Linked DNA regions of Homo sapiens: all the other regions are linked to region 1. The links are contacts of gene promoters, found by promoter capture Hi-C in human tissues and cell types (Jung and others, 2019). All regions are on one chromosome and are shown on one strand. The core of a region is centred on a gene start or on the middle of the fragment in contact, and the rest is flanking DNA. Distances in the headings are between cores, read along the strand shown. Region 1 holds the start of SPECC1 (sperm antigen with calponin homology and coiled-coil domains 1). Region 2 overlaps SPECC1 (sperm antigen with calponin homology and coiled-coil domains 1). Region 3 has its middle 78 kb from the start of FAM106B. Region 4 has its middle 13 kb from the start of TRW-CCA2-1.

Region 1 (2,886 bases), core at 91-2,590:
AAACATGAGAGACATCTGTTGTTTAACAGACAATAAGATCACCTACTTGGAAGAGGCAAACGAATCAAGCGAAAAACTATTAAAACTGAGACAGGCTTTAGTATGGAGGCTCAGCTTCAGCTGTAGTTTGGGCTACCAAATTCAACTCGCTTGCTTGGAGAGTTAATCCTGCAAAGCTAATTTCTGTTGAGGTATTAGGATTGACAAGCCTGTGCTCCTCCCTCCTCCCCCATCTTCAACACTGAAATAACACGGTGTTTGGAACTGGATAACAGAATCTTCCAAAAACAAAAATTGTCCTGAAGGGCTGACTTGTGCCCTTACTCAAAAAACACTTTATCTGCTGCCTGCAGCTCCTACAGTTGCTGGTGGATAAGCCTGCCAACCAGCTCGGCGTAATTCTTCCTGCAGAGGGCAAGGAAGAGCACTTTCACAGGAAAATTTTTTTCCGAACTGTATGCCGCTTATTACATAAACTTACGTGCTGGCAAATGGAGCTCCAGCAAAATAAGATATTCAGAGTCAAACTTCCTTAGGAAAAAAAAAAAAAAAAAGCAAGCACATAACACTAATTTCCTTGCATGGGCACTGGGGAAGGAGGTCGTTACTTCCGCACGCCCGCAGGTCCGCACCACCGGGAAACCCACGGGCACCGCGCGCTGCCCCCGGGCCTTCCAGGTGCACTGCGCCGCGGCGCCCCAGCTGACCCGGGATGCGCAGCCCTAGCCCTTCCCCTGTCACCCCGGCCAGGAAGGGGCGGGAGCGCGGCGGACGCCGAGGGCGAAGGGCTTCTCGGTCCTCTGCACCACGCAGCACCCCCAAGGCACAACAGGGAGGGTGCGGGAGGCTCCCGAGACCCAGGAGCCGGGGCCGGGCGTGCCCGCGCACCTGTCCCACTGCGGCGAGGGCTGGGGTCGCCTCCAGGGCCGCAGCTGTCGGGAGCCACCTGGCTCTCAGTCCCGGGTCCCTGCGACAACCCTCGGGCCCGGAGGGGAGGAGGCGGCCACCTGCCGCTGCCACCTGCGGCACCGGTCCCACCGCTCCGGGCCGGGCAGGACAGGCCAGGACGTCCCTCCTGGGCTGGGGACAGGACACGCGACGAGGGGACCGGGGCCCCCGCGGCGAAGACGCAGCACGCCTTCCCAGAAAGGCAGTCCCGTGCCCCCACGACGGACTGCCGGACCCCCGCGCTCGCCCGCCCATCCCTTCAGACCACGCGGCTGAGGCGCAAAGAGCCGGCCGGCGGGCGGGCTGGCGGCGCGGCTAGTACTCACCGGCCCCGCTGGCTCAGCGCCGCCGCAACCCCCAGCGGCCACGGCTCCGGGCGCTCACTGATGCTCAGGAGAGGGACCCGCGCTCCGCCGGCGCCTCCAGCCATCGCCGCCAGGGGGCGAGCGCGAGCCGCGCGGGGCTCGCTGGGAGATGTAGTACCCGGACCGCCGCCTGCGCCGTCCTCCTTCAGCCGGCGGCCGGGGGCCCCCTCTCTCCCAGCTCTCAGTGTCTCATCTCCCTATCTGCTCATCCTCTGGTCGCACATAATCGATGTTTGGGCGTCCCAAGCCAGATGTGGACCCCATTTCCGCACTCTACACTGGAGGTTTTCTAAGGGTGGTGCCCGGACCAGCAGCTTCAGCCTCATCTGGGAACTTGAGAAAATGCAGATTCTCCGTCCCACCCAGCCTATTCGGTTTTTCCTGCACTAAAACCATGAAGGTGGGGCCCAGCAGTCCACATTCTCGCAAGCCCGTCAAGTGATTCTGAGGCGCCCTCCAGTTTGAGAGCTATGCTCACGGCCTCACCTCCGCCCCGCAAGGAGCCCGGTCTTGCCTGTGGCGCTAGCCGCACACGGACACCTCATCCTGCGGGGCCCGCCCCCCCGCTGCACCCTCACCGCCCAACGCCTCCTCCGGGATGCAGCGGAGGCGCCTGGAAGTCGGCAAGGTCAACATCCCCCTCAGCATCTTCCCTACCCTCACGGCTCCTCCTCCAGGGGTGCCTCATGGCCAGGGGTTAGAAAGAGCCACTGTGTTTCTTGACATGGAAGTGGCCTAAGACCTTAATGAAAACTGCAGGAGTGGAATGACAGAACCTTTGGTCATACTTGAGGGCGTGAAGCTCAAATGAGGAGGAAGGAAAGGATCCAGGGAGAATAACCAACCCTGGCAAGTTGTGGCGCCCAGGTAGAGGGGCGAGCCTAGGCTAGCGGTTCTCGACCAGGGCCGGTGTTGCCCCTCCTCGCCGCCCCGCGTACATTTGGGGAGGTCTGGAGACATTTTTGGTTGTCATGATGCGGGAGTTGCTACTGTTGCCTAAGTGGGTAGACACGAGGGTGCTCCTCAACATCCTACCTGAAGGACAGGACTGCCCCACAAGGAAGAATGATCCGGCCCCAAATAAGAAACCCTGGGCTGGTCAGCAACAACCCCTTTGTTCTGAGAAGAGAGGAGGAAAGAATAAAAGAAGTGGGGTGAAGTTTTGGTTTGGTAGAGGAAACTTGAAGACATTTTCACTGGAAAGGAAGAGAGGAAGAGGAGGGAGATGTCTGTAAGGACGAGCAAACCGGGTGACAGCTGATTTCCTCATATTGAAGTAATGAGTCCTAGTTATAATAAATTCCTAATAAAAACCCAGTTTATCCCTGCAATAAACTTGTCTTTTTTTTTTAAATATACTGCTTGATTCTGTTTGCTAATATTTTATTTACAGGCTTTGCATTGATATGCAAAAATGAGATGGGCAATAATTTTCTTTTTGAATGTCTAATGTTGTTTGGTTTCAGAATCAATGTTATGCTCACATCATAAAAAATTTGGAACCGAGGCAGGAGGAGTGCTTGAGGCCAGAAGTTCGAGACCAGTCTAGGAAACACAGTGAGACCCCCCCATC
Region 2 (2,956 bases), core at 37-2,536, 260 kb before region 1:
CAGTTGTCAACCTCAAAACTCCAGAGCACCCACATGGCAATTTCTGGGCACGGCCAGGACCTCAGCACTAATGCTTTAGTGCTAGAAAGTCCCTGTTTCCTGCTGGCTGCCAGCCAGGGGGCCCTTCTTGGCTCCTTCTCACGTGCCCCCTCCCTCTTCAAACCACCAAGAACAATCAGAGTCCTTCTCATGCTTTGAATTTCCCCAACTTCTGCCACAAGCCAGAGACATCACTTGGCTTCTACAGGGGTTTGTGATTAGTGGGCATATCCAGACCATCTCCCTGTGTCATATAAAGAGGAGGACATTCTACCATGGAGAGTCATGGGGGTTATCTTCAGAATTCTTCCTGTCACACCTACCCTCCCGACTTTCTGTCCCTTCAGAATTCTTACTGGAAATTACAAATGGAAATCTCTCCATCGTAACAGAAAACTAGGAGCTTAAACTAGACTTTCAGATGAAAGAAAGGGAGGGGTAGGAGTTATCTGAGTCAGGCCTGCCCTTGGCTTGGAAAACAGCCAACACACATCAGGAGTATGAAATTTGAGGACTGAGAGTAATTTAGAGGGCCTTTCCAGGAGTGACTTATTCCAAAAAGACACCAGTGTGTATGAGTTGAGCAGAATGTGAGGAAGGGCCTCCTAGGAGCGCCATTTTGAGCTTAGTGAACTGGGCCTCACTTCGTAGTGAGGGCAAACTCACATCCTTTCACTGGGTCTCAATCCTGGGCCACTCGAGATGTCAGGCAGTTGGCCCGGAGCTCGGCAGGTGGGTCTGGCTGCGATGCTCACTTCCCAGTGCTGCTGACCTGGGTCGACCACCGTGTGTCACTTCAGCTTCTATTGGCACAGTAACGACAGTAATGACCTCCTTACTCTGACCCTCCACACCTAGGCCTTGGTGGGAAATAAAGCTTCATGCAGACACCAAAGCCCTTCAAGAGAGGGGAGCAAGTGCTCAAATGTCATCTCCCTGACCACTATGTATAAATTGTACCATTCACCCAACATTCCCAACCCTCCTTCCCTGCTTTATTTCTCTCCACGGCAATACAACCTTCAAATACCGTACATATGTTACCTTTTATTTCAGTTAACTGCCAGACCCCATGAGGATTTAAGTTCCATGAGAGCAGGGACTGTTGCCTGTTTCATTCACTGTGGAATCCCCAGGACCTACAATATATATATATATTTTTTGAGACGGAGTCTTGCTCTGTCGCCCAGGCTGGAGTGCAGTGGCGCTATCTCGGCTCACCGCAAGCTCCGCCTCCCGGGTTCACGCCATTCCCCTACCTCAGCCTCCCGAGCAGCTGGGACCACAGGTGCGTGCCACCACGCCCGGCTAATTTTTTGTATTTTTTAGTAGAGACGGGGTTTCACCATGTTAGCCAGGATGGTGTCGATCTCCCGACCTTGTGATCCACCCGCCTCAGCCTCCCAAAGTGCTGGGATTACAGGCGTGAGTCACCGCGCCCGGCCCCCAGCACCTACAATATTACCTGGAGCTGAACAATATATGGAAGGAGGCTGAAAGAAACCAGCTATGACACAAATAAATGGAGAAACATTCCATGCTCATGGATTGGAAAAATCAGTATCATTCAAATGGCTATACTGCCCAAAGCACTTTACAGATTCAATGGTATTCCTATCAAACTACAAATGTCATTTTTCAAAGAATTAGAAAAAACTATTCTAAAATTCATATGGAACCAAAACAGAGTCTGAATAGCCAAAGCAATCTTAAGTAAGAAGATCAAAGCTGGAGACTCGCATTGCCTGAGTTCATGTTATATTCTAAGGCTACAGTAACCAAAACAGCATGGCACTGGTATAAAAACAGACACATACACAAGTTAGAGTATCCAGAAATAGAGCTGCAAACCTATAATCATCTGATCTTTGACAAAAACAAGCAATGGGAAGAGAATTCCCTATTCAGCAAATGCTGCTGGGATGACTGGCTGACCATACGCAGAAGATAGAAACTAGACCTCTACCTGTCACTACATATAAAAATTAACTTAAAATGGATTACAGATTTAAATATAAGACTTCGAACTATAAAAATCCTAGAAGAAAACCTAGGAAATAACTTTTTCAACATTGGCCTTAGCAAAGAATTTTTGGCTAAGTCCCCAAAAGCAAGTGCAGCAAAATAAAAAATTGACAAGTGGAATCTAACTAAACTAAAGAGTTCCTTCACAGCAAAAGAAGCTATCAACAGAGTTAACAGACAACCCATAGAATGGGAAGAAATATTCACAAACTATGCATCTAATATCCAGAATCTATAAGAACTTAAATCCACAAGCAAAAACCAAATAACCCCATTAAAAAATAGGCAAAGGAAATGAACAGTCACCTCTCAAAAGAAGACATATATACATTCAATAAACATGAAAACACGCTCAACATCCCTAATCTTCAAAGAAATACGAATCAAAACCACAATGAGATACCATCTAACACTAGCCAGGAGGCTATTATTAAAAAGCCAAAAAATAGCAGACGCTAGCGAGGCCATGGAGAAAAAGAAATGCTTATACACTGCTGGTGGGAATAAAATTAGTTCAGCCCCTGTGGAAAGCAGTTTGGAGATTTCTCAAGGTACTAAAAATAGAACATTTGACCCAGCAATCCCATGACTAGGTATATACCCAAAGAAAAATAAGTCGTTCTACCACTCGTATGTTCATTGCAGCACTGTTCACAGTAGAAAAAACATAAAATCAACCTAAGTACCCACCAACAGTGGGTTGGATAAAGAAAATGTGGTAAATATACACCATGGAAATACACAGCCATAAAAAAGAACAAAAATCATGTCCATATAAAAGAACAAAAACATGGATGCAGCTGGAGGCCACTATTCTAAGCAAACTAACGCAGGAACAGAAAACCAAATACCACATCTCACTTATAAGTGGGAGCTAAACGTTGAGTACATA
Region 3 (2,967 bases), core at 205-2,704, 330 kb before region 1:
AAGCCAGGAACTCTTCTTCTAATGTGTTGACCTCATTCTTAAACTTTTGCATGTCTTGCTGTAATTCTTCATGTAGATATACTTCTGATGTTCTGTCAGAATCTGGTGGTAAAGAACTCAGATTTTCTAATTTAGGTTTCAGGCTTTTATAGTTATTTGTACTGCCACTGTCACTATTTTGGTTCATATTTTTTGTCATTTGCAAATCAAACTCTTGGTCTTCTTTCATTTCAACCGTAACCACTTCTGGGTTCCTTGCTTTCTTAGTGCTTGCATCATTATGAAAGTTCTTATCTGTACTAAAAATATGTCCAATGCCTGGTTTGTTATCATTGTCGCAGTCTAATTTATTTTCATGTAAATGAAGCTTAGAAGATGACTGGCAAACATGTTCCTGGGACCCAGAGTACGGATGGTAGTATGAATGGATGATATTTTTGAGACTGGGTTCTTTTTGTTCAGGAAATGTCTCGAATACCACTGAGACAGATATTTCAGATGCATCTTCTTCCTCACAACCAGGTATGTTATTTGTCAAATTAAAGGGAATATCCTTCACATCTGTTCCTCTTGTAGAGTTATCAAGTAGTGGCTCTTCCTCAGGACAAGCCGGAATTTTGTATTTTTCATAAATTTCACCAAACCTCTGCTTTAACTCATTTATGACGAGTTTTAATTGGTTTTTCCACTCTAATTTGCCTTGTTCAATCCGCATTTCCTCAGATTTTTGCACATGAGGAAGTACTGGATATATAGGTATATCCTCTCTATCACAATCCTTAGCCATTTCTGGTTCTTGAGACGTTTTCTGCAGATGCAAAAGTGGAAGATTAATTTGCTTGTTTTGTTTCTTGGGTGTCTTCTCTGTTGGGCTACATGTTTTAAAAATAGCTTTGTCCTTAAATAACAGGTATAAACAAAGAAAAATTCACAAATAATTAAAATGAAAATTTAACTGTTAAACTTCTTCATCTAGGTTTGGCTACTCCCAAATCACTGGCTTGTAACTAAGAAGTTAAAAAAAATTGTCTTAGCTGAAAGGAGGAGAAAAATATGAACCAGCAAACTTAACTTTGTCACTGTTTGTTTGGAATAAACTTAATTCATTATGTGTTAAATCTACCAAAAATGAATTAGCAGATGATTTCTAGTGTTACAAAGGCTTCCTCACTTGAAAAGTGAGCCCCTACAGTACATGTAAGTACTACATATTACTACATGTAAGTACTATATATTACTACATGTAAGTTCTATAGATTACTAACTGGAGGGTAGGCAATCTTCAAATTATTAGGAGCCCGAATCAACACCAATCAGAAACAAAAGCAAATTCTTAAGTTTTAATTCAAATTATATACTGTAACATCATAGGGTTATATATCTAGACTATCTTCTTCAGTTCAGTTCTAATATATACTACGGTCCCCTAATAACACTAACTAAAACTTTAAAGATAATTCTTACTAAGTTTCTGCATCTAAAAAGTTAGAAAGTTATTGTTTGTACCCTAACACCAAAGATCCCATTCTGCAAGGTATGATTCCCTTAATAGGCAGTTGGGTTGATTTCATAACCCCACTCTCACTGAATGTAGACCGTGAAGTCAATGAAAGGCCACATCTTTAACCTAGGCATTAGTAACTGGCAATATAAAACTGCAAAATTTGAGCCACTGGCCATGATTACTCCTATACCATGAATCCAACTTAGTGGCCATCACTGTTAAATTGTTCATAATTTCTGTTGCTTAATAATATAAGTCAATAATTGACATTACCTTCTTTATCCCATAAGGATATTGTAAGAATGGAAGAGCAAACAAAATTCTGGAATGTTTGCCTCTACTCCAAGGGTAAAGATTAACTATAAGTTATGATAGATTCTAACAATATTGTGTTTTATAACTAGTTTAAATGTATTTAAAATTAAATATTAAGTAAGGATCTATTGATTCTCAAAGGCTAGTCTGAGAGGTAATTTCATTTGGGCTAGCATATTAAAGCAAAGAAAAGAGTATTAAACCAGAAATTTAGATTTTAGTTTAAATGTTTCCACACTTGTGGCTGCTTATTTTCGCATCCTTTAAGTCTTTCTTGCTCTTCCTCTGATGTCAGCTCCAAGTCTTGTTCTGCTGCAAAATCCAAACGTTCAGTTAAACTACTTAGAACAGTTAGATAAAAGACATAGTCTTTATAAAAATAGATTTTAAATTACATTTCATTTTATTTCATAAATTGAGAGTTTAAATGAAGCTTGATCTTTAGTGGAATACTTACTTCTTTAAGAAATAATTCTAATTCTCCAAAACTTCAACAAACCACTTTCTGGGAGACACTAGATGCCACCAGGTTAAAGAAATACAATCATGTTGAAGATTCACTCACAGATTCATCCACCCAACATCAATGAACAAAGCCATCACAAACAAAACAAAATTTTGGAATGCAGTAGCAATATTATCAGGCAATGCTGCATACTGTTCTCCATTTCATAATAGTACCTTATTAATGATTTCCAAAATGACTGTGGACACCTTTATTGGTGTACAACCTCTTCCTAACATCCGAAATGGTTCCCTGTATTATTCTGACAAATGTATTAATATTTTCATCTTTTAAAACAGACTGCTAAAAATAAATAAATAAAATACATAAAATAAAAAACAGACTGCTAGGTGAAGTTGACCCTCATCCTCATCTTTCCCCAGGTAAACAGGTATCTAGGTATCTCCTTCCTTAGGGCTGCCCTAGAACTTTACTGATTTTTCTACTGCATCTCCACCACCCGAATTGTCAATTATTGCTTTACATGTCTATTCCCTCTGCTCCTTGACTGTAGGGAACAATCTTGAAAATCATCTTTGTACAAAGAGTCATTATCTATTTTACTCAGCAATTATGTATTGAGTCTTGCTATGTGCTAGGCACTAGGATTTAAAGAGTGAAAAGAAAGCATGTCAGAGATGAC
Region 4 (3,022 bases), core at 221-2,720, 490 kb after region 1:
GAATCACTTGAACCTGGGAGGCGGAGGTTGCGGTGAGCCAAGGTCAAGCCATTGCACTCCAGCCTGGGCAACAAGAGCGAAACTCTGTCTCAAAGAAAAAAAAAAAAGTTAAAGGAAGTGAGGTAAAGTGCACAGGGCTTCAGAAGAACATTTTGGGCCGGGCACGATGGCTCATGCCTGTAATCCCAGCACTTTGGGAGGCCCAAGTGGATGGATCACCTGAGATTGGGAGTTCGAGACCAGCCTGACCAACACGGAGAAACCCTGTCTCTACTAAAAATACAAAATTTAGCCGGGTGTGGTGGTGCATGCCTATAATCCCAGCTACTCAGGAGGCTGAGGCAGGAGAATCGCTTGAACCAGGGAGGCAGAGGTTGCAGCAAGCCAAGGTCGCGCCATTGTACTCCAGCGAAACTATGTCTCAAAAAAAATAAATAAAAGAAAGAAAAGAAAAAGAAAAAGAAACCACACAAAGTATGTTGTCAGGACACAATAAAATTAAACTAGAAATCAATAACAGAAAGCTAGCTGGAAAAAGCCCAAAATATCTGGAGATTAAACAACACATTTCTTTTTTGAGACAGTTTCACTCTTGTTGCCCAGGGTGGAGTGCAATGGCGCAATCTCGGCTCACTGCAACCTTCGCCTTCCGGTTTCAAGCGATTCTCCTGCCTCAGCCTCTCAAGTAGCTGGGATTACAGGAATGCGTCACCATACTCAGCTAAGTTTTTGTATTTAGTAGAAACGGGGTTTCACCGTGTTGGTCAGACTGGTCTTGAACTCCTGACCTCAGGAAATCCACCCGCCTCAGCCTCCCAAAGTGCTGGGATTACAGGTGTGAGCCACTGCGCCGGCCAACAACACGCTTTTGAGTAACACATGGGCCAAAGAAGAAATCCCAAGAAAAGTTTTAAAACATGTTGGTCATGAATTTAAATCTTATGAAAATGAAAATACAAACTATCAGAATTTGTGGGATGCAGAATTAAAAAATAGTGCTTAGGGGGATATTTCTAGCATTGACTGCATCTATGAGAAAAGAGAAAGATCTAAAATCAATCATCTAAGCTTCTACCATAGGAAACAAGAAAAAGAAGAGCAAATTAAATCCAAAGCAAACAAAAGAAAAGAAAAAAAGAAATTAGAGCAGAAGCCAATAGAATTGGAAATAGGAAATCAATAGAGAAAAACCAACAAAACCAAAAGCTGGTTCTTTGAAAAGAAAAATCATTGTGGTTCTGTGAGCACAGAATAGGAGCAGAATGGGTGTAAAGCAGGCAACCAAGAGTGAGCGTCTGACATGTATGCTCAGCAGAAGTCCATATCCTTGTCCAAGATGTCAAAGAAATCTCTTGATACATCTCTGGGCTTGAAGCACTGCCCTACAAGGTGCCCCCATGTACACCCCGACAGAGGACGCCCCTCCGCCCCACCCAGCTCACACCTAGTCATATGCAGATGTAAGACCCTGAGATTTTAAGCCCAAATGGGCAAAACATGTGGCCACATCTTTTTTATGACTTTTTGTTCAAAACATGTGGCCACATTTTAAGGGGGCCTGCCCCTCCACACCCCTGGGTACTTCTCGCAAGGTGGAGACAAGAGAGTGGGAAAAGAAATAAGACACAGAGACAAAATATAGAGGAAGAAAAGTGGGCCCAGGGGACCAGCGCTCAGCAAGTGAGGACCTGCACCAGTACTGGTTTTTGAATTCCCTCAGTATTTATTGATCACTATCTCTACCATCTCGGCGAGGGGGATGTGGCAAGACTATAGGGTAATTGTGGGGAGAGGGTCAGCAGGAAAACATGTGAGCAAAGGACTCTGTGTCAAAAATAAGTTTAAGGAAAGGTGCTGTGCCTGGATGTGCACATACGCCAGATTTATGTTTGACTTTACACATCTCAGTGCAGTAAAGAACAGTATTGCCGCCAGCATGTCTCACCTCCAGCCGTAAGGCAGTTTTCTCCTATCTCAGTAAATAGAATGTACGATCAGGTTTTACACCAAGACGTTCCATTCCCAGGGACGAGCAGTAGACAGATGCCTTCCTCTTATCTCAACCGCATAGAGGCCTTCCTCTTATCTCAACCGCATAGAGGCCTTCCTCTTTCACTAATCCTCCTCAGCACAGACCCTTTACGGGTGTCGGGCTGGGGGACGGTCAGGTCTTTCCCTTCCCACGAGGCCATATCTCAGGCTGTCTCAGTGGGGGGAAACCTGGACAACACCCAGGGTTTCTTGGGCAGAGGTCCCTGCGGCCTTCCGCAGTGCACTGTGTACTCGAGACTGGAGAATGGTGATGACTTTTACCAAGCATACTGCCTGCAAACACATTTTTACCAAAGCACATCCTGCACAGCCCTAAATCCCTTAAACCTTGAGTCAATACAGCACATGTTATCTGCCAGCACAGGGCTGGGGCTAGGTCTACAGATTAACAGCATCTCAAAGCAGAAGAATTTTTCTTAGTACAGATCAAAATAGAGTTTCTTATGTCTTCCTTTTTCTAATAGATACAATAACAGTCTGATTTCTCTTTATTTCCCCCACAACATCTTTTATGACTCAGCCCAACAATCTCCAGGCAGTGCCCAAGGTTAATGCCTAGGCCAATTGCTGCTGCAATCTGGGCTCAGGATGTGCAGACCAGAGATAGCCAAGGGTGTCTGATAACTCTAAGGGCTTGGTCGTGCTCAACCAGGATGGAGCTCAAGCCCCCAGACTGGCCAGGAGCTCAGTTGACTCAGCACTGCTCTTGAGTGCAGGTCAGAATGGGACTAGTGTTGGATTTTGGAGGTTAAAATAAAATACTCCAGGTCTTGACAGAGATGACTTAGCTGAAGTCATTCTGTTCCCCATCAAACATGACCCCTGGACTCAAGAAACAGGCAGCATCATGGGATGGGAGGCTGAGCCCTGGAGTTGGAGACCAGCCTGGGCAACATAGTAAGACCTCATCTCTACAAAAAAATTTAAGAATTAGCCAGGCATGGTGTCATGAGCCTCTAGTCCCAGCTAC

The links. The method cuts DNA at HindIII sites, captures the fragments that hold promoters and counts their contacts. A contact is called where the count stands out against the background at its distance.
Region 2: a contact is called between a fragment that was not itself captured here and the fragment with the promoter of SPECC1 in region 1, in 1 of the 25 tissues and cell types used here (hippocampus).
Region 3: a contact is called between a fragment that was not itself captured here and the fragment with the promoter of SPECC1 in region 1, in 1 of the 25 tissues and cell types used here (dorsolateral prefrontal cortex).
Region 4: a fragment that was not itself captured here is called in contact with the fragment with the promoter of SPECC1 in region 1 in 1 of the 25 tissues and cell types used here (hippocampus).

Annotation. Positions count from the first base shown.
Region 1 is chr17:20,007,813-20,010,698 of GRCh38, reverse strand. SPECC1 (sperm antigen with calponin homology and coiled-coil domains 1) reads right to left here and starts at 1,340. Exons shown (of 15, transcript NM_001243439.2): 1 at 1,275-1,340. It overlaps SPECC1-DT (SPECC1 divergent transcript), which reads left to right and starts at 1,439. Exons shown (of 1, transcript NR_186461.1): 1 at 1,439-2,644. RefSeq lists silencers at 669-848, 869-1,538 and an enhancer at 1,971-2,538. The HindIII fragment of the contact is 29,689 bases long and covers 1-2,886 here.
Region 2 is chr17:20,264,830-20,267,785 of GRCh38, reverse strand. All of the region lies in intron 12 of SPECC1 (sperm antigen with calponin homology and coiled-coil domains 1), which reads right to left. Among named protein-coding and RNA genes, the nearest start is that of FAM106B, 150 kb to the left of the region's middle. The HindIII fragment of the contact is 8,883 bases long and covers 1-2,956 here.
Region 3 is chr17:20,337,321-20,340,287 of GRCh38, reverse strand. It overlaps the pseudogene CCDC144CP. Among named protein-coding and RNA genes, the nearest start is that of FAM106B, 78 kb to the left of the region's middle. The HindIII fragment of the contact is 4,138 bases long and covers 1-2,967 here.
Region 4 is chr17:19,519,243-19,522,264 of GRCh38, reverse strand. No RefSeq gene overlaps it. Among named protein-coding and RNA genes, the nearest start is that of TRW-CCA2-1, 13 kb to the right of the region's middle. RefSeq lists an enhancer at 2,720-3,022. The HindIII fragment of the contact is 5,850 bases long and covers 1-3,022 here.